Linked DNA regions of Homo sapiens: all the other regions are linked to region 1. The links are contacts of gene promoters, found by promoter capture Hi-C in blood cells and fetal thymus (Javierre and others, 2016). All regions are on one chromosome and are shown on one strand. Each heading gives the region's core, a stretch centred on a gene start or on the middle of the fragment in contact. The rest is flanking DNA. Distances are from core to core; before and after follow the strand shown.

Evidence for each region. The method cuts DNA at HindIII sites, captures the fragments that hold promoters and counts their contacts. A CHiCAGO score of 5 or more calls a contact.
Region 2: a contact is called between a fragment that was not itself captured here and the fragment with the promoter of BTBD18 in region 1, in 3 of 17 cell types (fetal thymus, non-activated CD4 T cells and M0 macrophages). The highest score is 6.0, in fetal thymus.
Region 3: a fragment that was not itself captured here is called in contact with the fragment with the promoter of BTBD18 in region 1 in 1 of 17 cell types (non-activated CD4 T cells); the score reaches 5.9 in non-activated CD4 T cells.
Region 4: a fragment that was not itself captured here is called in contact with the fragment with the promoter of BTBD18 in region 1 in 4 of 17 cell types (activated CD4 T cells, total CD8 T cells, naive CD8 T cells and 1 more); the score reaches 7.6 in activated CD4 T cells.
Region 5: a contact is called between a fragment that was not itself captured here and the fragment with the promoter of BTBD18 in region 1, in 5 of 17 cell types (naive CD4 T cells, naive CD8 T cells, total CD8 T cells and 2 more). The highest score is 7.5, in naive CD4 T cells.
Region 6: a contact is called between a fragment that was not itself captured here and the fragment with the promoter of BTBD18 in region 1, in 1 of 17 cell types (total CD8 T cells). The highest score is 5.6, in total CD8 T cells.

Annotation. Positions count from the first base shown.
Region 1 is chr11:57,749,924-57,754,434 of GRCh38, forward strand. It overlaps BTBD18 (BTB domain containing 18), which reads right to left and starts at 1,896. Exons shown (of 3, transcript NM_001145101.3): 1 at 1,618-1,896; 2 at 1,142-1,313. The coding sequence starts at 1,265. All of the region lies in intron 2 of TMX2-CTNND1 (TMX2-CTNND1 readthrough (NMD candidate)), which reads left to right. The HindIII fragment of the contact is 11,151 bases long and covers 1-2,678 here.
Region 2 is chr11:58,626,078-58,630,588 of GRCh38, forward strand. No RefSeq gene overlaps it. Among named protein-coding and RNA genes, the nearest start is that of CNTF, 5.7 kb to the left of the region's middle. The HindIII fragment of the contact is 3,706 bases long and covers 510-4,215 here.
Region 3 is chr11:58,610,040-58,614,550 of GRCh38, forward strand. ZFP91 (ZFP91 zinc finger protein, atypical E3 ubiquitin ligase) reads left to right here. Exons shown (of 11, transcript NM_053023.5): 4 at 259-295; 5 at 911-1,015; 6 at 1,565-1,699; 7 at 2,239-2,289; 8 at 2,723-2,801; 9 at 4,190-4,304. ZFP91-CNTF (ZFP91-CNTF readthrough (NMD candidate)) reads left to right here. Exons shown (of 13, transcript NR_024091.1): 4 at 259-295; 5 at 911-1,015; 6 at 1,565-1,699; 7 at 2,239-2,289; 8 at 2,723-2,801; 9 at 4,190-4,304. Among named protein-coding and RNA genes, the nearest start is that of CNTF, 10 kb to the right of the region's middle. The HindIII fragment of the contact is 1,495 bases long and covers 1,492-2,986 here.
Region 4 is chr11:58,587,918-58,592,428 of GRCh38, forward strand. All of the region lies in intron 2 of ZFP91 (ZFP91 zinc finger protein, atypical E3 ubiquitin ligase), which reads left to right. All of the region lies in intron 2 of ZFP91-CNTF (ZFP91-CNTF readthrough (NMD candidate)), which reads left to right. Among named protein-coding and RNA genes, the nearest start is that of ZFP91-CNTF, 11 kb to the left of the region's middle. The HindIII fragment of the contact is 5,379 bases long and covers 1-4,511 here.
Region 5 is chr11:58,546,839-58,551,349 of GRCh38, forward strand. LPXN (leupaxin) reads right to left here. Exons shown (of 9, transcript NM_004811.3): 5 at 4,227-4,394; 6 at 3,135-3,308; 7 at 2,948-3,029. Among named protein-coding and RNA genes, the nearest start is that of LPXN, 27 kb to the right of the region's middle. The HindIII fragment of the contact is 2,737 bases long and covers 996-3,732 here.
Region 6 is chr11:58,493,005-58,497,515 of GRCh38, forward strand. It overlaps LOC105369313 (a long non-coding RNA gene), which reads right to left. Exons shown (of 5, transcript XR_007062673.1): 5 at 932-4,511. Among named protein-coding and RNA genes, the nearest start is that of OR5B21, 13 kb to the right of the region's middle. The HindIII fragment of the contact is 403 bases long and covers 1,684-2,086 here.

The sequences.
Region 1 (4,511 bases), core at 646-3,145:
ACTTAGTAACTCTGACTCCTAATCTTGGGCCTTGTACATTATATATCAGGGTCTACTTTATGCTGAATTAACATTTCCAGTGTGAAGTGAAGGGGTGGAAATAACCTATACATTTTTAGTTCTAGCAACAAACAACAAAAGTCATCAATTTGAAGATTAAATAAATTAAGCAGGCCGGGCAACGTGGCTCACGCCTGTAATCCCAGCACTTTGGGAGGCTGAGGCAGGTGAATCATGAGGTCAGGAGTTCGAGACCAGTCTGGCCAACATAGTGAAACCCCATCTCTACTAAAAATACAAAAAATTTTCCGGGTGTGGTGGCACGCACCTGTAGTCCCAGCTACTCGGGAGGCTGAGGCGGCAGAATCGCTTGAACGCGGGAGGTGGAGGTTGCAGTGAGCTGAGACCGTGCCATTGCACTCCAGCCTGGGAGACAGAGAGAGACTCTGTCTCAAAAACAAAACAACAACAAAAAAGAAAATGGGAAAAGGGTCGGACGTGGTGGCTCACGCCTATAATCCCAGCACTTTGGCAAGCCCAGGCGGGTGGATCACTTGAGGCCAGGAGTTTGAGACCAGCCTGGCCATCATGGCAAAACCTCATCTCTACTAAAAATACAAAAGTTAGCTGGGCGTAGTGGCGCATGCCTGTAATCTCAGCTACTTGAGAAAGCTAAGGCATGAGAATCACTTGAACCCAGGAGGTGGAGGTTGCAGGTAGCTGTGATTGTGCCACCACACTCCTGCCTGGGCAAGAGAGTGAGACTCTCAAAAAGAAAACATAATAGTATCATCTAACACATATTGTGGTTAGTATATTAAAAGCACTATTCTAAGTGCTTACCCACATTAACTCTTAATCTTCACAACCATCCCATTGGAATATTATCCATGTTATATAGAATGTATCTGCTTATAAAACTTTACAATTAGATTCATTATTTAAGAGAAAGAAGCAAAGTCACAATTTCACTCTTGAAAACAGTAGTAATTGTCCTAGAAACAAACAGCCCTTTACCAAATAGTTTACAGTGGTCATAGGCAGTAATATTTTGCTGATTTTGTCCTTTACCCTCTGGCTCTGAACTCATTTTATCTTATTCTATGGTGAGTTTTCAGTTGAATTCCGACCACTCTCTTACCTTCTGCCTGCAGAAGGACATCACAGAACACATCACTCTGCTGCTGGTGATGAAGCTGCAGAAAAGCTAACCTGAGGAACCGGGGGTTCCTGTATAGGATTTTGGGACTGGCAGGAGAGCACATGTTGGCAAGAGTCTTAACAAACCTTCTAGGTTTTCACAGATCAGACTCCTGTAGGTGAGATAATACATTTCAGAGGCATGGTTACATCTAATTTGTTTTTTGTCTTTGAAATGGCAGGGGAATTTTGAAAGTGAGAGATAATAGTATGAGTTGAGGAAACATCAGCCCAGAAATTGTGCCAAGGATATCTCAAGAAAGAAAATTATCATAGTGGTTACATGTGGGAGCTCAGAGATAAGCCTAGGTTTGGGTCTTGGCTCTATTTATTAGCCTGGCTGTATAATCTCACACAGGTGACCTAACTTCTCTGAGTCTCACTTTCCTATCCATGAAATAGAATAATAGTACTTACCTTGTAGGGTTGTTTTAAAGATTAAATGAGTCAGTGAAGGTAAAGTTGCTTAGCACAGTGAGTGCCTGGCACAAAATAACTACCAAGCCCCAAATGGTAACTATTATTATCCTTCAACCTTCCTCATTTCCATTACCACTGAGACTCAACTGCTACAATGCTGACTACTTATATTCTTCCTGAGCACCACATCCCAGCTCCACAGGTATAATCTTCAAGTTAACACTTTTAAGGAAACATTACTGGGTATAAAATTATCTCTAGTAAGTCGTATGCGCCTTTTCTCTGAGCTCACTGTATCACACTAACCAGCAGAGGGTGCACAATAAAGAAGAGAAGCCTCTGACTCTGCGGGAAGGTCTCTCACAGAACCAAGGACGTTGCCACCCTTGGCTGGGTGTACTTGACCAAAGCGAGCCTGACTGACCCTGGTAGTAGGCAAAGAATTTGGCCTTTACGTTTGTATAGTTAATTACCAGGCTAACAATGCAGCAAGGATAGTAAAGCATTTTACCCCTCCCAAAACAAACTGAGTATTCTGACTTCAGGCTTATGTCCAGCTTTTTAGCTCCGAAACCCCCCCACTCACTGCACAGCTGTGTTCCTTTCCTGGAATGCAGTTTTCTATCAGGTAGCACTGAGGGTCCGAACAGTTCACGTCAAAACTATCAGGAAAGAAGAATGAAAAGGTAAATTAAGAGAAGGCGGGCTTGGCTGGGCGGGGTGGCTCACGCCTGTAATCCCAGCACTTTGGGAGGCCGAGGCGGGTGGATCACCTGAGGTTAGGAGTTTGAGACCAGCCTGGCCAACATGGTGACTCCCCGTCTCTACAAAAATACGAAAATTAGCCGGGCATGGTGGCAGGCGCCTGTAATCTCAGCTACTCAGGAGGCTGAGGTGGGAGAATCGCTTGAACCTGGGAGGCAGAGGTTGTAGATAGAGCCACTGCACTCCAGCCTGGGCGACAGAGCGAGACTCCGTCTCAAAAAAAAAAAAAAAATTCCCATCCCAGTGAGAGAGATGTGGATGGAGGATGGCAGCTGTTGCAAGGGCCCTGGGGAAGCTTCTCAATCCACGATCGCCTGGCCTTGCCTCCAGACCCAACTTGAAATAGCTTTTCGGTAGACTTTGCTCCTGTTGCCTTCTCTGTGCTTGTCCTCTGTCCAGCCTGCCTTGCTTCCTCTCAATGTTCAGCGTTGAGTCAGGAGGCTGAGCAAAGATGCGCAGGTGGGCCAACGGCTGAGTGCTTCACCTCCCCATCCAGAAGCAAGGGAATCGGTGTTGGCGGAGAAAGCAGGGCTTCAGGGAGAGCCCTGCAAAGCGGGGTGGCCCGCACGCTTGGGCGCCCTGGCCCAACTCCTTTGAAGAAAGACTCCTAGGCGCGAGGGTTTCTGGGAATGGACCGTGGGGATCCGGGAGGCCCAAAGTCAGGACTTCCCGTCACGGCCACCTCCGCCAGCATAGACTTTGCAGGCAGCCCCTGGCGCCCTTGTATCCCTGCGGGCTTCAGCACCCACATGCACTGGGTGGTAGTGATAGCGAGGGTTGTAAGGCCACGCGGCCAGCGCCACACACCTCGTGCCACCGTCCTAGCGCGCTGCGCGTCGCAGAGCCCTACGCCCCTCCTCCTCCCGAGTCCTCGGGCCTACGTCGTCCGGCATACGTCATCCCCATTGGCCGAAGGCTCCCGGGAGAACCAATCAGAACAGGAGGAGCGCTTTGGGCGGGAGGCTAAGTCTCGAGGGACTTGAGGGCTGAGGGAAGATGGCTGGGCTGCAAGAGGCAGGGGGATGGGCCCGTCAGGGAGGAATTCTTGTGAAAGCCGTCGTCTGCCTCAGCACTTGATGAAAACACACCGAAAAAGAGGGTAGGGATGCTGTAGTAGAGCAGGCGCCAAGGCGGTTAAGGGTCATGTCCGTCTTCCCTTTGAAGAGGCAGTAGATGCCCTTGGCTCTGCCTGGAGCGCTCCATGTTTCGTGATGGAAGTCTCTGGATGGCTCTGGTAACACCGGGTCCCCCATATGGCTAATTTAGAAATCTCCTAAGACCAGAGATGTTATGGAATAAGGTCCTTGGGCAGTTTCTGAATTCAGTTTCTTCACTGATTCCACTCCAACCCCAAATCTTGGAGAACTAATGACCCAGGGGTTTTGCAGAAAATCCCCCCCCCCGCCCCCGCGAACGGTCTCCATTATCGTTACAGAGATGATTTTTTAAAAAAATGTTAATTAGGCCTGGCGCGGTGGTTCACGCTTGTAATCCCAGGACTTTGGGAGGCTGAGGGGGGCGGATCACGAGGTCAGGAGTTAGAGACCAGCCTGGCCAACATGGTGAAACCCCGTCTCTACAAAAATACAAAAAATTAGCCGGGCCTGGTGGCGCGTGCTGTAATCCCAGCAACTCGGGAGGCTGAGGCAGGAGAATCGTTTGAACCCGGGAGGCAGAGGTTTCACTGAGCCGAGATGACGCCACTGCACTCCAGCCTGGGTGACAGAGCAAGACTCAGTCTCAGAAAAAAAAAAAAAAGGTAATTAATGTTGCCCAGGATGTGACGCGATCCCGGCTCACTGCAGCCTCGACCTCTGGAGCTCCAGCAATCCTTCCACCTCAGCCTCCCGAGTAGCTGGGGCTATAGGCAAGTGCCACCATGCCTGGCTGATTTAATTGTTTTTCTTTTATTTATTTATTTATTTATTTTTTGGAAACAGAGTTCCGCTCTTCTTGTCCACGCTGGAGTGCAAGGCGTGATCTTGGCTCACTGCAACCTCCACCTCAGGGTTCAAGCAATTCTCCTGCCTCAGCCTCCTGAGTAGCTGGGATTACAGGCATATGCCACCATGCCCAGCTAAGTTTTGTATTTTTAGTAGAGCCAGGGTTACACCATGTTGGCCAGG
Region 2 (4,511 bases), core at 1,113-3,612, 880 kb after region 1:
AGGCATTGTAACAGTTCAGGGAAAGTAAGGCCCTGCTTTCTAATATGCATTTGTGGCAATATGGTTGTGAGTGTGTATACACACACACGTACATTACTGTGATCAGTGATGCAGACAGTGTAACCCAAGCCTTTGTGGACAGTGAGTGGAATACTACTCAAGTTAAAAAGTCACAGAACTCCTTCACCTCACATTCTCTGGACTTAGTCATGAGGAGAGGGTGAGGCCTACTCTGTTCTCACTGGAGATACCAGAGATTCTGTAAACACACAAACACACACACACACACACACACACACACATAGTCGAAATTATAAGTCCCAGGTTTGTTAGGAAGCTAAAGGAAGGAGAGGGGCCCAAAGTAGTTTCCCGGAGGAGGTAGGAGTTGTGTCTCAGTACAAAACTACAAAATACTCTGTACTGGTTGAGTACAAAAGAGAAGTCATGAGAGAAGGGAAGAGGTGATCATTTGTAATTTTGGCACTGAATGTATAGTCTTATTCCATTCAAGCTTTCTCTTAATTCTGCTTAACAGCAGCATTCTCAAATAATAAAATTTCTGCTTATTAATATGAAGCTCTTAGAGCTATCTGGATAATACTTCTGTTCAATGGAGAAATATGTCTACAATTTCTTAATGGGGAATAACTGACTATGAATTTGCTGCATCTAAAATGACCCCATCAATTATACATGTAAAAATAAATTTTTGAAATTTTTTAAATAAAAAATTAAAAGATGTTGCCCCCATACTCCCTCCATCAAAAATGTTTTTAAAAAATGAGTGTCCCCTCTCCAAGTGTTTTTATGTTCAGCAGGTACAGCAGCAGACATCTGCAGAAGTTTCAGAACTCAGTGGAGCTTGGCTTAAGCTCTCATGAGTTGCATGTAAAGGAATATGTATGTATAAGAGGCGGATTTGAAGTGGCAGAGGGTCCACAAAAGGCACAAGTACTAACCACTGAATGGGAGGAGATAGAAAAATGTGTAAGTCACAATTAAGTCACAGAATCACCAAGTCTTTACCAAGTGCATTGTCAGCACTTTGCAAAACGCTGTGTACTTGTCTTTCAGGAAGCATACAATATGCACCCAAAAGAAGTGTGGGGAAAGCTAATCTTAGAAAAAGATAAAGGGGAAATGAGCAGTAGACCATGCAACAAAAATCAACATGTATGAGATCTGAATGTGTAGACATTGCATCATGTTTATTTGAAATGGATAAATAGAAAAAGGGACTGAATGGATTAGTATTCTAGATGTGTGCCTTATAGTAAAGAAGAGGATAACGATGACACTATGGAATTACGTTTTTTTAGGAATATAGAACCCCAAGAAGATTTTGTTCATTAGGTTTTATTCTGTTGATCTGATATGGATAAGATCTCTGGGAAATCATATATGGTATAACTATATAGATTGAATTATAGTTTAAGGTACATAGATTTAGTTTCTAGCCCTAACTCATTTTGTAAAAACAATTTCTTCTGCCTCCTTTTCAGAGAGTACCTTCTGAAAAGTCCTCTGTGGGTAAAGAGATCTTGTTTTCCTGAGTCAAGGAATTGCATGGATGAGAGTTTTTCTTGCATTCATGTAAGAGGGTGATTTGGAAAAGGCTCGCAAATCAGCACAAACTTGAAAGCCAAGCATGGAATAAAATTAGCCTTAAGATAATCAGGTTTAAGTGAAGGGAGAGTTTTAATAAAAATGGAAAATGTAAAGTCATAGCTCTGGTATTGCTGTTATTTCAAGCTGCTATGGATCAATGCCCAAAGGATGACTCATTGTTGTGATCACTTGTCAGACAGGGAGAGGACTAGTAAATATTTCAGGAAGACATATCTGAAAAGTTATTTAGATTGAATTTTGTTTGTGAATCCTCAGCTCCTCATGAGGTACCTGAGCATCTCTGTTAAGGGGTGAAATAGAGACACGGGAAGCAGAGAGACCTCCACCAGGATGTAAAGGGGATTGGTAAAGAGGAAGGGGGTAGGGGGGAGTAGAATTTTGATTTCACTTCAGTTGATTCTGTGTGTGTGTGTGTGTGTGTGTGTGTGTGTGTGTGTGTGCGCGCGCGCGCGTGTGTGACTAATGTACTGTTAATGTACTGTTTAGGTCAGGACATTTCTTAAAAGGAATGCTTTGGCCTCCTGCCTCATCCCACCTCCACTGCAAGCGTCAGACCCACCCAAGAATGAGCTCTCTGAATGTGGGTGCATTCAAAAGCGAAAAATGATAAAAACTTCATTTCTTGGCTTCTGTAGCCCTCTGAGAACTACAGATAAAGACAGAATAAGATAATTTGATGGTTTGATGAAGTGTCTGGGTGTGAGATAAAATCTATGTGCTTATGATTCTTAATATAAAAGATTATTTCGATCAATCTGGTTTGAACACATAGAAAACAAAAGATGCAAGAATAGCTAACAATAAAGTTCTTTTCTCAGCAATACCATAAGTTACTTCTTTTCTGTATCTTTGGATGAATGAGGGGAATTTCAAGTGACTTCAGCATTGGATGAAGCATAATCCTCCTAGCCAGGGCCAGGCCCAATCAAGCGTGCTGAGTAAATCTCCATGGTGCCAGGCCACTCACACTGGGCAAAACTCCCAGGGCCAGTCAGCCTAGAAAAGGTAGATTGCCCCTATATCACCAGGCCAATGCTTTGCCCTCTGAATACGTAGTCCTATCAGCTAGACTGCAGATGAGAATGATTTCCTTTTATATGGCTTAATTGCAAGTAGCTGACCACCCCCCCCCCCCCATTAAGCCTTTGACTTCAAGAGAAGAACCCTGACTAGCCCATTTTTAGTCAGGTTGGAGGTAGAAACCAAATTGTTGAAAATCACATAGAGGAAAATATGAAACAGTTACTGAGAGATTCTGTATTTCTATCCACATATTTAAGGTAGTATGAAAGGGAATAATGTAACATGTCAGGCAGCTCTGCATTATTTTATATTATTTAATCCTCTGACATATCTCTTAGATGAGGAAAATGAGAATGAGCATTAACTTGCCCAAATTTCCTCCTCTAGCACCTGACAGGGCTGGAGTCTTAATTCTGGCTCTAAAGCTCACTTCACTACATCTTGTGCCATAGGACATCTGGTAATCAAAATTCTCTTATTCTGAAATCCATTCTCTGTCTCTAATCCACTCTCCTTGGCTAAAGCCAATACAGGCTTGTACAGAATTTTGCTTTGTAACGAAGTCTATATAAGTTTCTAAACTTTCAGACAAGTCACTCTTTTTTCTGAGCTTCCTCATTTGTGAAATGAAAATGATGAAAAATAGCTAACTACACAGTTGTTATAGACAAATTGAGTATCTGAAATTACTTGTAACTGACATGCAGACATCATCAGGTATATTTAATGCCTCAGGTAGCTTGGATTCAGAGTTGATTGAGGAGCAAGCTCCTAAGTATCTCAGAGAATACCACCTGCTTACCAGGAATGATCTGGCCACAGCCTCAACTTCACCCTATTGTGCCTATTGGCCTTTGGCCACTGGAGGTTGACCCAGCAGTCTCACTCACAGCCTCCAGGAATCATCCACTTCCCTGGAGAGTTACAACCCAGGCCATTCACCCAGGAGGCAGCTTTCACGGTAGGCATGGTCAGACAAGTCCTGGAGAAGCCTGGTAGGCTCCAGAGGGAGCCAAGGAAACATGCCGTCTAAGGAGCTGCCCAGGATACATTAAAGCATGCGTTTAGACTTAGAATCATCCCACCGTACGCCTACACCCTCCTGTTAATACCAGAAGGAACTCAAACTTCATTTAGTTCAATCCCTTCGTTAAACATAACATGAAGAAGCCAAAGAGGTTCAGCAATTTGCCCTGACATCCCAGCTAAAAAGTGGCAGAATGAGACCTACAGTCCATGGATCCCCTGGCTGCACTTTCCTGCTTCTCCATCAAACCAACCTCATTTTAGGAAACATCTGGTCTTTCTTGCTCTCTTGTATGCAGCGCCCTCTAGCTCCCTCAACTCTAATAATCCTTTAGAAGCTCTAGGAACAGCACCTCATCCAGACTTCTTTTGCCACTCCAACCCCCACCTCTACTATAATTTGAGGGTGCTATATTTCATCCTTCCCCTGATATGATGGGGGAAAGATGTGGCCCATTCTGAGGAATGCATTCTGAGTAATGGCTAAATATGTTACTCATTTCAGGGTAAGTGTCGTTTGAACAAGGCACTCAGGGAAGCTTTTTAAAAATAATATTCTGGGCCGGGCATGGTGGCTCACACCTGTAATCCCAGCACTTTGGGAGGCCAAGGTGGGTGGATCACGAGGTCAGGAGTTTGAGACCAGCCTGACCAACATGGTGAAACCCCGTCTCTACTAAAAATACAAAAATTAGCTGGGCGTGGTGGCGCGCGCCTGTAATCCCAGGTACTCAGGAAGCTGAGGCAGGAGAATCGCTTGAACCCGGGAGGTGGAGGTTGCAGTGAGCCAAGATCGTGCCACTGCACTCCAGCCTGGGCGACAGAGCAAGATT
Region 3 (4,511 bases), core at 989-3,488, 860 kb after region 1:
GTACAGTGCAACTAGAATATGGCTGTTTACTAACTAGTTGCTGTTACATTTTAAATGTAATGTTGAACATTTGTGTTAACAGCTTAACTGTCAGGGGCAGGTTTGATGGTGTAGGTGGTATTTCTTTGAACAGTTTGCAGATATTCTGCTTTTGTATAATTACCCCATGCAGTAATTTGATTTGCATTTCTTGACTGCAGAGAGAAAATATCTTATATCTACACTAATAAAATTTTGTTTTTGGCTTTGTTTTTCTAGATGTTGGAGAAGAGCATCAGTCTCCAGGTGGCATTAGGTAAAAAAAACATTAATATTTCATTTTTAAACCTTTGGGGACATAGCATAGTCACAGTAAATGATTCAGAAGTTGCTTCCATTTGAAATTATTTTGAGCTGTAAGAGAAATTAACTTCAGTTTTGATACTGCATTTAGATTCCATGTTGAGCTTGATTAGAACTTAAACCATGTAATCTACTTACATAGCTTAGAAATCATGTCTTGAGTATCTTCTGTGTTTGGACTTATTCCATGGTAGGCACTAATGTGAAATATGGGTGTTTTGGCCAAGGTTTTGAGATTTTATTGGAATCTTTTGTGTTGTGATTTATCTGTTAGTAGGTCTTTTAATATAGCAGATCACCAGACAGTATTACAAAGTCAGTTGTTTCTTAACTTTTAATGCCATTGAGTTGTCATCACCCTGTCTTTATCTAGGATTTATGTCTTTTTAGTTTCAATTATTATTCTTTGTGATAAAACAGCTAGATTTCAGTCCAATTAGGTCATTAGGATGAAAATGCTAGATGACTTTATCAGTGTTTGGCTACCTCTTAAAAAATTACCAAATAAAATCCCCTCAGACATGTTCGCTACAACCAGAATGTCTCATTTCTATTTACTTATTTTTAGTAGTGAAGAGGAAGAGGAGGAGGAAGAAGAGATGTTAATCAGTGAAGAGGAGATACCATTCAAAGATGATCCAAGAGATGAGACCTACAAACCCCACTTAGAAAGGCATGTCTCAGATTTTACTGCAGACATGTTAATGAAATATAAGTAGGAAAGCACTGTTGCATGCTTTTATTTTATCTGTTGCCAAGCTAATGGGTATAGAATTAATTTTAAATGAGTAATTAATTATGCACTTCTTTTGTAAGTCTAACACCTTAATATACCCTGATAATAATCCTCTTTCCCATTTGTAGAACTTTATTTTGATTATATACAAGTTTTTATGAGTCTGCATGTTTTATTTCAACAAGGTATCATGAATTGCCTGAATACTTAGAATTTTTTAACTAATTGTCTCGTTTCTCTTTACAATTATAGTGAAATTTGATTTACAGGCATCTTTAGTCTGGGGAGGGTTCATTCCATGAGCAACATATACATATATTTGGATCATTACTATGCATGTGAGGATGATTGGTAGGAAATCACATTTCATGAACTGAGGAAGGTAGTTTTATAACAAATCAGTGATAACTCTAAGCTTTAATTTGTTGTCATAGTCTTCCTTGAAAAGATCTTTTGTCTAGTATTGAAATGCATTTGTGTTTTCAGGGAAACCCCAAAGCCACGGAGAAAATCAGGGAAGGTAAAAGAAGAGAAGGAGAAGAAGGAAATTAAAGTGGAAGTAGAGGTGGAGGTGAAAGAAGAGGAGAATGAAATTAGAGAGGATGAGGAACCTCCAAGGAAGTGAGTAGGCAATTATTAAAAATGAAAATCTAACAGATTTTGAACGACTAGTGGAAAAAAGAGTGGGAGTGTGAGGAAGGATGTTGACGTATACATGCTTCAAAATATGTATTTTTTAACTTAAAAAAATTTGGCCTCAAGCAGCTGACAATTTCACTGGAGAGACTCTTAGTAAAAAAATGTTTAGGTTTTTCAGTTCTATTGCAAGGAGAAGGTATTTTTTAATCTTAGTGTTTTTAGATGATACATGGTAGCAACTCTAAAAGTAATACATTGAGATTCTTCTAAGTCTTTCATAGTATTGCATAGTTTATGGAAGGTATATATTTAATCTGTCTTACAGACTGATTTGAAAGTGAAATTACTTCAGGGTAAAATTACTTGCTTGATTTGCCAGATATATCTTTGACTTTATGTATTCTTGGTTATCCTTTGCCACTTGTTCTTTGGCCGTGTGTGTGTGTGTGTGTCTTCAGCCAGCCTTCACTGTGTAGTTTTGATTCAGAATATGTCTACTGTTACCCTGTCTTCAATTACAGGAGAGGAAGAAGACGAAAAGATGACAAAAGTCCACGTTTACCCAAAAGGAGGTGAGGAATTTTTACCCCTACTGTTTTACACCTTATTCCAGTACCAGGCACTTTACTCACAAATTTAGACTTCATGATAATCCTGCAGGAATGGCTATTTAAAAATTTCACAAAAGCAACTTCACTAATGTCCTAGATGCACAGGTGTTATGATCTTATTTTCATTGTAAGAGCTTGAAATTTCTAACAATCTTAATACTTTACCTTTGGGGGGTCATTAGTTTATTTGTGTTACTTTTTAATTCTGTCAAATATTTGCTAATTCTTGGTTACTTCTAATACAAATTCTGTGTAATCTGTATAGTAGTAAAGAGATTTTAATTCTTCCTACTATAAAATAGCTATTCCCAATAGCACAGTTTAAGTCAGAGGCCACTGTGCAGAGTACCACTTTTTTTTTTTTGCTAACTTTTCTTCTGCATTTTGATAATAGAAAAAAGCCTCCAATCCAGTATGTCCGTTGTGAGATGGAAGGATGTGGAACTGTCCTTGCCCATCCTCGCTATTTGCAGGTCAGTGAAGTTGTTATATAAGAGCCTTTCAGGTTGTGTTCCATTACTTGTTCTTGCACCACGAGACTTTAATTTGTTGGCTTGTGTAGGCTTTATCATTGACATGTAATGTCAAGAAAAGTCTTTCTTTAAACATAAAATGACTTTAACCCATTTATGCCTAGTGTTCCATTATTAGAATGCTAAGCTTGGGCAAGTTATTTATATCCTACTGTTCAAGGTCATCACCAAGGTCTGATTTTTCACAAAAATACATTTGCAACCTCCAGCATAAATGGGTTAATCATGATTAGTCCATTTGTGCTGCTATAATAGAGTACCTGAGACTGGGTAATTTACAAAGAACATATATTTATTTATTAGCTTGTGGTTCTGGAGACTGGAAAGTCCAAAAGCATGGTGCCCACATCTCACAAGAGCCTTTTAACTGTGTCAGCCCATGGTGGAAGGGCAAGAATGGGTTGAACTTGCTTTTGTAACAAATCTACTCCAATGATAATATCAACCCATTTATATAAGGGTAGAGCCTTTAAGACCTAAGCACCTCCCATTAGGTCCCGCCTTCCAACACTATCACATTGGGGATTAAGTTTCCAACACATGAACTGTGGTGAACACATCCAAATTCATAGCACCTCCTGTTTAAAAAGAGGTGACTAAGAATCTGAACCCACATAGAGAACTTTCGTTGGAATCTTTCAATATTACAGTAATTCCCAATGTGGTGTAAATACAGAGTAACATTTTATTTTAAAGTGATTTAGAAAAAAAGTAAAATTAGAACTCAAACCTGTGATTTCTTGGGTACTGTGTAGAATGAATAAAAGACTTTTAGTTGAGGTTTTGTTTTTATTTTTCTTGAGTAGATTATTATTATTATTTTTGATGAGTAAACGTACCACTTATATTTAGGTCTGGCAGGAAACGTGAAAGTGAAATACTGCTTAGGAAATACCTGTTTGATCTTCAGCAACAAATATAACATGACACGAAGGCCTTCTTCTGGATCGTGGTTCAGTTATAACAATAGCCGCTCCTCCTCTGCTGTGTGCCATTTGCTGCTCTAAAGCACAGTACAATACATAATCTCTTATCCCCATAACAACACTTTGAGATGGTTATTGTTACCTCCATTTTACAAATGAGAACTGGAGCTTGAAATATTTGTCTCCTAAGATTACAAAGGCTAGTGAATGACAGACCCAGATTGGAAACCAGGTCTGTGTATTTCCACCTATGTTCTTAGCCACTTTATTATACTCCCTCACTATCCATGTGTGAAATCTAAGTATTTGGTTTTCCTTCAGTACTTTTGACTTAGCAAAGACAAGTACTTTCAGGAAGCCTTAATTTTTTTTTTTTCGCCCCTTTCACTTTCTCTGTTTTAGCACCACATTAAATACCAGCATTTGCTGAAGAAGAAATATGTATGTCCCCATCCCTCCTGTGGACGACTCTTCAGGCTTCAGAAGCAACTTCTGCGACATGCCAAACATCATACAGGTACTTTTAAAATGTGTTTATCAAGTAGGTAATTGCACTGTGCTTTAGTTTTGCATGTTGGTAATGATAACGTTTTTCTAACATAAGTCTTAAAAGATTCTATAGTCAAGTGCGGGGAAAAGGTGTGAAAATAAAATGTAGTAAGACAAATTTTACAAGGGATGGGCAGACTAGGACTTTTGAATTTTTATCCTTTGACTTCTTGAA
Region 4 (4,511 bases), core at 1,044-3,543, 840 kb after region 1:
ATAAATACTGTAGAATCAAGTAGATGTGGGCAGTGCTTCAGTTATTAATGTTAGATAGGTTATTTATTGCAGAACTTCTCAGAAACTTTGATTTTTGAGTAATGTGCAGTGTAAATACCAAAATTTTGCAGCGATTACCTAACCTATTTGACTTATAAGACCCCCTTTTTAAAGAGCATTTCGTAAAACTGGAGTTTACAGAAAACATACTTGGAAATACTGCATGCTTGAAAATTTGATTGTATAAAACTCTGGATCTCAACCTTTTATTCAAAATCATTTTACTCTTTTCAGTTGCTCTTATGAAATAGTGATGTTTGACAGTGATTACTGTGAGTCTCTAACTTGTGTAGTCAGGAAAAAAGAAGTCAGTCATCAGATAAATTCATAACAGATCTCAGCATTTACTTAGATTATTTGGAGCTTAACTGTTAAGTATTTACCTTACCTAGTTTATCATAATCAGCATACTATCTGTAATTATTACTAAAGTATTAGTTTATTTTGATTATTTTTCCTCCTGTCTGGATGACATCCTCAGTTTTTTTCTTATATTGATACAGTCTAATTTATAGCTTATGCCTCTGTGCTCCATGTTTTAAAATTAGAATTAATTTGTTATTAACAGTTTTCATAGATTTCAACAGTTTTATTTTTCATGTATTGAAATATCTTTGATTATCGTATCCTCTCAAATCAGTCTCTTGTATCCCATTCATCTTGGCCTCTTGTCAACTTGCAACCTCAATATAACATTGACTGTTTTTACTTCCTTTACAGATGTGTCTGTTTTATAGTATACTTTTTTGTTGGTTTTTCTTTCTTTCTAGTATATTTAAAGAATATTTTTATTATTTCTAAAAATACAGAAGACACATTTTTATGCTTTTTTTCCCATTCCAGTGAGAAAAATCTAACTTGTAATTCTTACCATTTGAGTTTGTGTACAAAAGGAAGAATCGAGAAGATACTGAGAACATTGTCTTCACAATTCTTTCTTGAAAGATTTTGAATCTCCTTGCTAATGACCTAGTTTTCCCAGTCAAAATAAAATCTTTTAGGTTTTGAATAGAAAAAGAGTTCTGGAAGGAAAATCTGTAGGTGAGAAAGGGCGTGTATAAGCCCAGTCTTAACACTCAGATAGGCTTTTAAGGTTTTTTTTGTTTGTTTTTGAGACAGGGTCTCATTTTATTGCCCAGGCTGGAGTGCAGTGGTGTGATCATGGCCCACTGCAGTGTTGATCTCCTGGGCTCAAGCCATCCTCCTGCCTCAGCTTCCCAAGTAGCTGGGACTACAGAAGTGTGCCGCCATTTCCAGCTAATTGTTTTTGATTTTTTTGTAGAGACAGGGTCTCACTGTGTTGCCTAGCCTGGTCTGGCTAGGCAGTCCTCTTGCCTCGGCCTCCCAAAGTGCTGGAATTTATAGGCATAAGCCACTACACCCAGCCTGTTAGTTTTAACTGAAATATTCCCCTTTACCAATTAAATGATACTGTTCTAAATTTAAATGTAAGTTAAAAACAACAACAACAACAAAAGCCTCTTTCCCTGGCTTCTCTTAATACTACTGAGATTGGCTAATATTTCAAAGCAAACTTTAATTATTTATGGAAAACAAAGTGCAGCTAGTGATAGAAATACACAGAGTAGTTCAGTTAGGTTTCAGAAACTCAAGTTTCTGACAATATAATGTTCAAGCCTCAAAGGCTAAATACAGTAGATAGACATTTTTGTTTGTCCTTCCTTCCTAATCTTTTATCTTAAGGTAGCAGTAACTGTATTATTTCTCTTAGTATGAGAATAATTTACTCAGACATCTTGTTCCATGTTGGGTATGGCCCAGATCCTTTAATCCGTATTGCTAGTTCAGACATCCAAACCTCCTTTGGTTCTTTTCCATTATTAATTTCCTACAAATAAAGATATATGTCACTTATAATATGTGAATTGTGATGTAGGCTTAAAAAGCCTTGATCATCAGCTTATTTCAGTTATGGGATTACCTATCAGGTAAATGAGTCTTAACTTTATAATAATTTGCCTATTACAGCTCAACTTATTGCCATCTTCGACACAGTTATAAGTTTATTCTGCTATATATATTATTTTACATTGAGATCCCTTTTCCTGCCAAGACCACTTGAGAGTTAAAGCAGAATGCCCTGATAGAAGAAAACTGAAGCAGAGGAAACTTAAAATCCTTAGTGGGGAAAGCCATATTCAGCCAGTACAAATCCAAAACCTTTAAGAGAGACTTGCTTGTATCTTCATTTTGAAATGAGCCTTAGTGGATAAGAATCTGTGACAAAAAGTAATATTGCCCCTTGACTGTTAAGTTCAAGAAAGAAGAAATTCCTCTGAATTAAAACCAGCCTGAATAATCTAATGCTATCCGGGCAAAGGCTTCTTTAGCTTCATAACAAACCATCTAAAAATTTAGTGGCTTAAAACACAGCAATTTATTATTTACTGGTTGGGCCATTCCCCCCTCCTCATTGGTCATTCAGTTCAGACTTGTTTTATATTATGGTGGTTGTGGCGCAGTGTTCCAAAATCCTGAAGGCAGTAACTGCAAGGTGTCTTGAAACCACCCCCACAGTATAATCAATCAGTTGTATTTCTGTATATCAGCAACAAAAAATAGAAAATCGAAGTCATAAAATCAAAATAAAATTTATATTAGTATTTACAACCCTATAAGCAAGATATACTGCTCCATTTACTTAGGTTTTTAATTTTACTCAGCAATGTTTTGTACTTTTCAGTGTATAGGTCTTTCAAATTTTTTATCCCATATATCCCTGAGTATTTCATATTTTTTGATGCTGTTAGCTTAGCTTAATTGGGATTCCCACTGTGTTTAAGAGTGGGATTGATTCTTTAAGAAAGAAGAGGTGCCTAGATGCTTTGTGGATATCCAGTCATGGCTACTGTACATTTATATTCTATTATTTAACCGTTACCTAACTGAAGGGCATTTGATATTTCTGGGTTTTTTTTTTTTCCTGAGATTACAGGTGATTTTTAGAGAAATCCTATTAAAATGTACCATACGTATACAGAAATGCACATATTATAAGACATATACATGTACTCTTGTTTCTCCTCCCCCTTCTTTATTTTATAAGTGGGTGGACCCAGGGTGAGCCCAATCATGTAACCATTTACACAACTGAAGAAATAAAACATAATTGTTTTGGAAACTCCCTTATGCTCCTTCAAGTCAACCGCCCCCAAGTGTAACCACTATTTTGACTTTAGCAGAAATTAGATTTGCCAATTTTTGAATTTTACATAAATGGGATAATACAGTAGGCACTCTTTTGTGTCTCGCTTATTTTGCTCATCATTTGTGACAAATGCTGTGTTTGTCATAGATCGTTTATTTTAGTTGTTGTATAGTGTCCCATTGTGGGAATATAACCACAGTTTAACTGTTTTACTGTTGATGGATGTTTGGGCAGTTTTCAGTTATTAGTCTTTATGACTAGTACTGTGATGTATATTTTTGAAATATAGTGTTATTGGGATGTAATTTATACATCATAAAATTCACCCATTTCAAATGTACAATTTAGGGATCTTGGTACATTGTATGAATTGCACACCTATCACAATACAGTTTTAGAACTTTTTCTTCACCCTAATAATGTCCTTCATGCCTGTTTATAGTTAATCCGTATTCTCACCCCCAACCCTAGGCAACCATTAATCTACTTTCTGTCTGTATAGATTTGTTTTTTTTCTGGACATTTTGTGTAAATGGACTCAGACATACAATTTGTGTTTGTATATAGGAAGCATTATGCAATGTATGTAGGAAGCATTATGCAGGCAAGACAAATTTGTATCTAGAGTCTATTCCAGTAACAACAAAGCACTGCCACTTCCATGATGGAAGTGGTCCAATGTAGCGAACCTTGCACCAGGTGAGCTGGATGATCACCCCAGGGAATGGTGCCATATCAGGGACTCGGTGTTGGTCTCTGCTGCTGGCATATTAGGCAATTAGCAGTGGCTGTAGCCAGGTCAGCCTGGGTTTGGTTTTCAGCAATCTCAGTTTTGCAGCTGTAGTAGGTAAGTATTGTTTTCAGGAAAGACACAGAAACTTTGAGGTAATTTTTGTGATGCTCGAGCTGGGAATTTGAACCCCTGAGCACATCTTTTTTTTTTTTTTTTTTTTTTGGAGACTGAATTTCACTCTTGCCCAGGCTGGAGTGCAGTGACGTGATATCGGCTCACTGCAGCCTCTGCCTCCTGGGTTCAAGTGATCCTCCTGCCTCAGCCTCCTGATTAGCTGGGATTAGAGGTGGTGTACCACCACATCTGCCTAATTTTTTGTATTTTTTTAGTAGAGATGGAGTTTCACCATGTTGGCCAGCCTGGTCTCAAACTCCTGACCTCAGATGATCTCCCTGCCTCAGCCTCCCAAAGTGCTGGGATTATAGGCATGATCCACCGTGTCCAGTCTGCACATCCTTTTCTTTATCCACTTCATGTTTTCTAGTTAAG
Region 5 (4,511 bases), core at 1,114-3,613, 800 kb after region 1:
AGGTAGTCAAAGATTACTTGTACAATTCTGGAATTCCTCACTCTTGTTCAGGAGAAAACAGGTAAAGAAAAAGGAAAACTGAGAGAAGGATTCCTTTGAAGAAAACTGTGCTATGAGTGCCCCATCACCACCAAGAAAGATGAGGTATAGTTCTTGATAACCTCAGGTTAAAAGAGGGACTTCACTGGGACGACTCAGAGAGTTGGATATGTGTGCCTTGGCATTAGTGAGATGCAGTTAGTGGTATCAGAGTTACCCCTGGAAAAAGTCCATAGATGAGTCTGGCTGAAAGAGCCTATGGCAGCTGAATAGAAACATGCAGCTAAAAATTATAACTCCACTGGCTGTCAGAGAAAAGAGTAAGTTATCCATGGTCCTTCTATGAAAATATGAGAGGAAGAGATTATCTGGAACGATGTTAATAATTTCTAAGGGTTCACTAGGAGGGAACAATGAAAGCCCCTTGAAAAAAGAATCTTTACAAAACAAATCCTCAAAGAAACATGACAAGGAGAGAATAGCTAGTCAAGACACGTAAAGGGCAATCAAGAGTTCACTGCTGGACCTGTCTTAATCCCGAAAAGAATTCAGGGAAAAAAGTCAGAGCTAAACACTGGCTGAGCCTGGAGAGCATAAAGCCAATTTAACAACAATCCTAGACAAGTTAGACCTTCCTGCCTTCTATTCTCATCTCCATCCTCCCTAGTGTTTCAACCCTAGAGCAGGCAGGTGTCAAGGCTGGCAATAAGGGTGAGGGTGGTAGATAACAAAGCGAGGTCAGGAGAGAGGAAAGGCCATACCCCTGTCCTCGCCTCCTGCAGCTTGAAGGTCCTAAAAAAGAGAGGGAGTGGCTGTCACTTTTAAAGTGCTGGAAGCCTTAACTATTACACAGACTGAATTACCTAATGGCTTAGTTTTTGTGTTTTGTTTCTTAAATTGATTTTATATTTAGAACTGTTTTTTAACAGTAATCAGAAAAGACAGAGGACTGCACAAGCTTTTATTTATGAGAGGAGAAATCCTTCCCCACTGAGTTCATTCTAAAAGGACAGGAGAAAAACAAAGTAAAGCAGCTTTCTGATTCCATATTTGTTCAAAACAAACATAAAAAGGAGAAATTAAAAAAAACAAGACAATTCAGAAAACACATGAAACAAACATACAAAGGGGGAAGAATGGGTCATGTAGAAAGGATCAAGGATAAAAAAAATTTAATAAAAACTTGCCAATCATGGAAGCTAGAAGACAGTGAAGCAATGTCTTCAGAATTATGAAGGAAAATAGTTTCCACTTAGAATTCTATGCCCAGGCAACTTAAGGGCAATGACAGAATAAAAATATTTTCAGATATTCAAGTTCTCAAAAATTCTTTCTCAGAAAGCTACTAGGGGATGTTCCCCACCAAAATAAAGGTGGTAACATGTATAAAACATAGACATGGGACCCAGGAAACAGAGCATCCAAAGAGGAAACTAATAAAAGGAATTTCCAAGAGTAATTACTAGATATAATTCTAAGTTAATGAACCAGAATGACTGCTACTCAGCAGGAAGAAATCATTTCATGTTGAATCAGGAGGAGGAAAGTCTCCTGGAGGGATATCTCCAGAAAAAAAAAAAAGAAAAGAAAGAAACTGACTTGTTGCCAGATGTAGTTGGCCATTTTGAAAAGAATTTCACAGTTCTGTTGCATAACTTAGTGATAAGTACAATAAAAACTAAGCCAATTTCAAAAAGGATTCAAATGTTAACTTTAGAAAAAAATGAATTTATACCAAAAGGACACTGTGATAATAATATTAACACTACTATACCTCCATGTGCTTGGCACTATTCTAAATACCACGCTTGTATTGTCTCTAAATCCTCATAACAACCCTATAAGGTAGGCAATTTCATTAGGACTATTTTACTGATGAGGAAAGTAAGGTACAGAGATGTTAAATGACTTGAACAAATACCACAACCCAGATTTGAACCTGGAAGTCTGACTCTAAAATCCAGACTCTAGTGTAGTCAGTTTGCTACATGGCTTACTTGTGAGCAGTATTCTATGATTGTCAACATATGCACACTTAATACTGATCTAACCTGTAATTATGACATAATTATATATTGAAAAAACAGGGGAGGGGAAATATGTTAGGAGTGAGTGGGGTAATAATAACATTTCTAAACCTCATCTTCCCTCTTAGACAGTCAATACATAATGGTTAAAACTGGAAAAATAAAACAATCTATAACAATATAAAGTTATTATTTAAAACACATAAGCAGGCCAGGCGCAGTAGTTCATGCCTGTAATGCCAGCACTTTGGGAGGCCAAGGCGGGCGGATCACGAGGTCAGGAGTTCAAGACCAGCCTGGCCAATATGGTGAAACATTGTCCCTACTAAAAATACAAAAATTAACCGGGTGTGGTGGCAAGTGCCTGTAGTCCCAGCTACTTGGGAGGCTGAGGCAGGAGAATCGCTTGAACCCAGGAGGTGGAGGTTGCAGTGGGCGGAGATCGCACCAGAGATCGCACCACTGCACTCCAGCCTGGGCAACACAGTGAGACTCCGTCTCAAAAAAACAAACAACAACAACAACAAAAAATAAGTAAATATCAGAAGAAACAGCTAAAATAATTTGGAGAGGAGAACTGGATTTGGAGATGAGAAAGGGACTTTTTCAATATTCAACAAGAAAAGGCTTTTTCAATATTACCCTTGAAGTAATATTTGAGTTTTTAAACTATGCATTTGTATTTCTGTGATTTAAAAAATCAATTTAAAGGGAAATTATAAATGTTGGAGAAAGGTAGGGAGGGATGGTATCTAGTACTGAAATGGGCACTTTGATAGTACTGATAGGAACCAGGACTCCCGTGACTACCAGGAAAGGTGTTGCTGGTCTTATAACTACCCACTGGGGTGTGGGATACAGCCTCTCAAGTCGGGTCATACCTTCTGCACCAAACACCTCTCCGCAGTGAGAGCAGAAGAAGTGCTCTGGGTGCCAGGTCTGGTTCATTGCTGTCAGCACTTTCTGGAAAGGGAACACACAGATATTATAATGATGCAGAAGTTGTAAAGCATGACTCTGGTTCTAAGTGAGTGACTGAAAGCTGGAGAGGAGCGGGGATTTACTTACATCCAGGATGGGAGCAGCGCAGTAAGCACAGCGTGGAGAAAAAAGTTGGTGGTAGTCGTTGGGGCAGTAGGCCAAGCCACTCCGCTCAAAGAAGGGACTGGAGCCAATCTCTTCTTTGCAATGAGTACAGACAAAATGCTCAGGATGCCATGATTGCCCTAGAGCATGGATCACCTGTGGAGTGAAATAAAGCCTGACACAGGAGGCCAGTTGAGTGCTCTACAGCCTACAGGTTGCACAACTCTAGGGAGCACTCTTCACATTGTACCCCTTGTAGACAACACGCCCTGGAATTATACAACACTGAGGCCTAGACCTAGGTTCCACCTAAGGCCATCTGTGGTCTGTGCTTTATGGATTGATAATAAAAGGATGCCCACTTCCGGGACTGATCACTGTGATGAAAGCCTGTAAATGTTCACAACCACTGCACTGCCACAGGGGGTGGCAGAAACAACATATAGCACATTGATGACAGAGAAGTTGTAACTGTAGCCTTAGTGTGGAAGGGACCCCTGGAAGAGGAAAAGGCCAAATGACAGTTTTTATTCCTCTAGTTTGAACACTTTATTCCACGCCCCATGCAGTCAGGTCTCAAAGCTTTTTATCATAGCTTCGGTGAAGGACGATGCAGAACAGGAGTTTGCAGCTGTGACTTGGAGCTGAGTTCAGCTGAAAATTGTAATCAATCAATTTAGACTGGGAATGTGTGAACAAAGGGAGCAGTGAGAAAGGTCATCTCAGTAAAGGCAGTACAGAAAAATGGTCAAGAACTCAAACTCAGGAGACAGTCTCCTGGTTTCAGATCTTACCTCTACCTCTTATTATGCCTTGGATATGTCCATTAATGTCTCTGAGTCCTCAGTTTCCTCATCTTTACAAAGGGAGCAATCATTCTTCTTGAAGGGCTGATGTGACCATTAAATGAGGAAATACTTGTAAAGCACTTAGCTCAGTGGCCAGAGCACTGTAAGTGATTAGTAATTATTAATGCTAACTAAAATATCTTAAAATATAAGGGGAAAGAGCAAACCTTGATGAGACAGAGAGAGACAAAGAAGGCTGTAGGACCAAAATTTCAGCCCATCTCACCTTCCCAGCAATCGGTTTCTGGCAGGATGCACAATGGCCCTTGGGCACTGTGGCAATGCCAAGGTCCTGCAATTCCTGCTCCAGACCCCCAAGCATTGAGTCCAGGGAGGCCTTGTGATCCTGCTTGTCTGGTAAGTGCTTCTTGCCAGCATCTGCTCTCACTGCAACCTGGCCCAAGGGAAGAACCAAGAACAGAATCAGCCTCATTTTTATTCTCATTGGCATCTTCTAATGACTCTATAAATTCACCTCTACTGACTGATCTCTTGGCCTTTCCCCAACCTT
Region 6 (4,511 bases), core at 635-3,134, 740 kb after region 1:
AAATCCTAGCTCTTTGGGAAGCTGAGGTGGAAGGATTGCTTTAGCCCAGGAGTTCGAGGTTACAGTGAGCTATGATAGTACCACTGCACTTCAGCCTGGGGGACAGAGTGAGATCCTGCCTCCAAAAAAAAAAAAATTCAGTTATGCAAGATCTGCTATACAACATTTTACCTATAGTTAACAATACTGTACTGTGCAGTTACAAATTTATGAAGAGGATGGATTTCATGTTGTGTTCTTATCAAAATCTTTAAAAAAGAAAAAAAGAAAAAGGAGGCTGGGGGCGGTGGCTCACACCTGTAATCCGAGCACTTTGGGAGGCCGAGGCGGGTGGATCACGAGGTCAGGAGATCGAGAACATCCTGGCTAACAGGGTGAAACCCTCTCTTTACAAAAATATAAAAATTAGCCGGGCGTGGTGGCGGGCGCCTGTAGTCCCAGCTACTTGGGAGGCTGAGGCAGGAGAATGGCGTGAACCCGGGAGGCAGAGCTTGCAGTGAGCTGAGATCGCGCCACTGCACTCCAGCCTGGGCGACAAGGCAAGACTCCGTCTCAAAAAAAAAAAAAAGAAAGAAAAAAAAAGGAAATAAAGACTTTTGCTTCTGACTTTAAAATACAGAATGTTTTTGTTTCAGTGGTTTCTCTCTCTCCTTTTTACTTGTGCTGTGTAGGTGGGACAGAGGACAGACCAGAGGCAACTTAAACCTGTTCGGAATGACTTCAGCAGGTCCTGGGATATGAAGGTCCCTCCTAAATCAGAAGAGAGTATCTTAAGTTACATATCTGTTATAAAGAACATCTCCCCGTGTCCCCAAAATATAAAGACACACTAAAAATACATATGACCCAAGGAGAGAACCCACACAAGTGTGGGTGTGATTCACAAAGTTATAAATATCACTTGCATAAAGGATGACTCAGAGAAAAATAATTTAGAAAGAGACCAAGAACATTATTTTATTAATATAATTTCTTCTGAGAGAAAAATGAGGCTGAAATATATGACACTGCTTTCCTGTTTCTCCCCAATAATGAACCCCTAAATGGGGTTGATAGGAAGAGTCTGCTATAGATCACTCCTGTTCTCAGTTACCTCTTCCATGAAATGAAAATGCTAAGAATAATATCCACCTAATAATAATATGAAAAACATTAGGTAATATTTACTGAGCTTTACTATGAGTTAGAAATCAGCCTGCAGCAATTATGTCATGAAACCTCTACAAGCCTGATGAAAAAGATACTACTGTCTTATGATTGCTACTTTAGAGATGGGAATTACAAGACTTAGAGGTATTTTAGTAATTTCTTCCAGGTTGCATCACCAGTAAATGGCAAAAACAATATTCAAAACCAAGAAGTCTGATTTCAGAAGCCACAGCCTAAATACCAGGATAAATATCTCTTGATTAAATAAGATAAAGCATGTAATAGTAAGCACTCCATATATGAAAGTGACTACTATATTTCATCTAAGTCCTGCTTCTATGCATTCTACACTATTATCCCATGCTAGTCCACACGTGGAATTTCTTTCTTGTGTTAGTATTTATTTCAGTCTGCAGGTTCTTTCCATCTCTGCTGATAGGAAGGATCAAAATTCACTTAGAGAAGATTTTTCAATTCCTAAGAAGACTTAGCATCTCTTCAGCATGCTCTGTGAATTTCAAGGCTCTTGATTGAAGCTTCTTATCCTCTATGCATCCATGTGCTCATTAAATTCTGAAACAAGGCTCATGAACCAAAAGAAAAACGGTTAAGAACCACAGCTCTGGCTCTGATGACTGAAGCATGACTTCTGTCTCTATTTATGAGGAGTTGGGGTTTGGCACTTTTCTTCCTACTTTGAGCTTTCTGTGTTCAATGCCTAATACCACTTAGATTTTCCTTCTGTCAAAGCCCTACGGAATATTGGTACCATCACATGAGTTTTAAAAAAATTCTATGTTGTTGAAAAGTCTAAAAGTTCAGAAATAATACTTAAAACATCCCCATCTGAGATTTAAGTGTTCAGTAGGCTATTAAAGATGCTGAGAAGTACTGTAGTAATGTAACAGCAAGCTGTTTAACTTACCTGCTTATGGAAAGCTTTTTCATATGTAACCCTGTTAACTCCCCATAGCATTTTGCTTGGGGAAAAAAAAAAGTAGCATTAGACAGAAGTGTGTAATCCATGAAATTCCTGGATTGTGTCCCACTGAATACAATGCATCTCAGAATTACACTCTTTGTCCATTTCATGCCAGTTTTCAGGACAGCACATATACAATTTTCCCATTTTCATAATTCTCTCTCATTAGCTTGAGTGTTCCATGAGGATACATTTTTGTCATGTTTACCTTTAAAATACCATCACACTGTCTAGAATTTATTAGTTATAAATAAACACTTCTTGAATAAATGAATTACTCAGAACCTTTTGTTTGTTTCATTGGTGGTGAATAGAGTAAACAACCGTTCCAATTTGCCCAGAATTAAGAAATTTTCTGAGATTTGGGGCTTTCAGTGAGAAAACAGATTGTTCCAGGCAAACTAGGACAAATTGGTCATGCTATGCGGTGGTGATTTTTTATTTTGTTGATTTTTGCTTTTAATTATCATATTTGTCCACTCTGTGTGTGTGTCCAGATTTTAGCTAAACACTAGCCATGAATTAGTGTGTTTACTTCTCAAAACAGCCTCAGGAAATATGTATGATTTCGTCTCCATTTCACAGATGAAGAAATCAAGGCAAAATTTTCATGCCTTGGCCACAGATACCCAGCCTTACCCTGCTGTCTGGTTCTAGAGTCTGTGCCCTCCAAAATGAATTCTGCAGGTACAGCAAAGAGCATAAGGTCACGAAATTCATCTTTGAAAATAAGAGCTCAGTAATTCACATAGAAAATAATGTGGACAAGCACAATCCATTCCCTGCTGGGTGAGATAGAATGTGAGAGAAAGAAGTCTGGAAAGCCATAATCTTAACATTAATCCAAGATGCGAGTGAATTTGAATTTGAGCTTTTAATATGTTATATACAGGCCAAGCAAGCTGAGAGCTATTTTTAGCTCTAAGTTATGAAATACAATCACATGGACAGGTGGCCTACATTTTCAGTTTTATATTTGGTGAGGAGTTTTGCAGTCAAAGTGAGAATGCCATTGCACCGACCAGGTTTGGAAAAGGCAGCTGGAGTCCTACAGATTCTGAGCATGCTGAGCAGGACAGCTAGGTGGTGGTGTGGAGTGGGAGATAGAAAATCTGGAGCCTAGACTCAACACCACCAGTCTATCTATATGACATGGGAAAAAACATTTGAGATTTCTTTTTTTTTTTTTGCCTTAGTTTTCTCATCTGAAAAAAGGTAGAACATGATGGGGAGGTAAGAATAGAGTATAAAGGGTTTGTAGGCCAGCAAAAGAGTGAATCGGTATCCTGGTTCTATCACTTAGCATCTGTATCTGAGCCTTAGTTTTACCATCTATAAAATGGGAAATCTGATTCATAAATCACAGGTTATCATTTAGTAGAAAATGATGACACTTCTTCATCTGTTTAATCCTTGATAAGTCACTTCACATATTTGGGCCTTGGTTTTATCAACTATAAAACTAGGATAATAACCTAAATGTTAACAGGGTAATTATGAGAAACAACAAAGGTGAAAATGCCCACCAGAGCTCACAGCACACACAAAACCATCAGGAAGTATTTGAGGAGGGGACAGCTTCTAAGGCTCTTTACATCTCTAGGAAATGTGAATTTTGTGCACACTAGCCACTGTTTTCTGCTTACTTCAAGAAACAAGTCTAAAGATTTAGGATCTTATCTCTGATGTTCTTAGCAACACAAATAGCAATCTTAAAGAAGGTAAAACATTATTTGGCCATCAGAAATTATCATAGAATTAAGAGTGGATGAGGACAGCAAAAGAAACAAATAGAGTAAAAAGGGCAACTTACAGAATGGGAGAAAATATTTGCAAACTATGCATCCAACAAAGGTCTAATATCCAGAATCTATAAGGGACTCAAATTAACAAGCAAAAAACAAACAGCCTCCATTAAAAAGTGGGCAAAAGACACAAACAGTTTTCAAAAGAAAACATACAGTGAACAAGCATATGAAAGATGCTTAAAATCACTGATCATTAGAGAAATGAAAATCAAAACCACAATGAGATACCATCTCACACCAGTCAGAATGGCTATTACTAAAAAGTCAAAAAATAACAGATGCTTGTGAGGTTGCAGAGAAAAGAGAATGCTTATACACTGTTGGGGGGAACATAAATTAGTTCAGCAATTGTGGAAAACAGTGTGGCAATTTCTCAAATAACTTAAAACAGAATTCTTATTTGACCCAGCAATCCTATTACTGGGGATATGCCAGGAGGAATATAAATAGATCTGTCATAAAGACACATATACGCATATGTTCATTGCAGCACTATTCACAAGAGCAAAGACATGGAATCAACCTAAATGCCTATCAACAGTAGACTGGATAAAGAAAATGTGACACATATA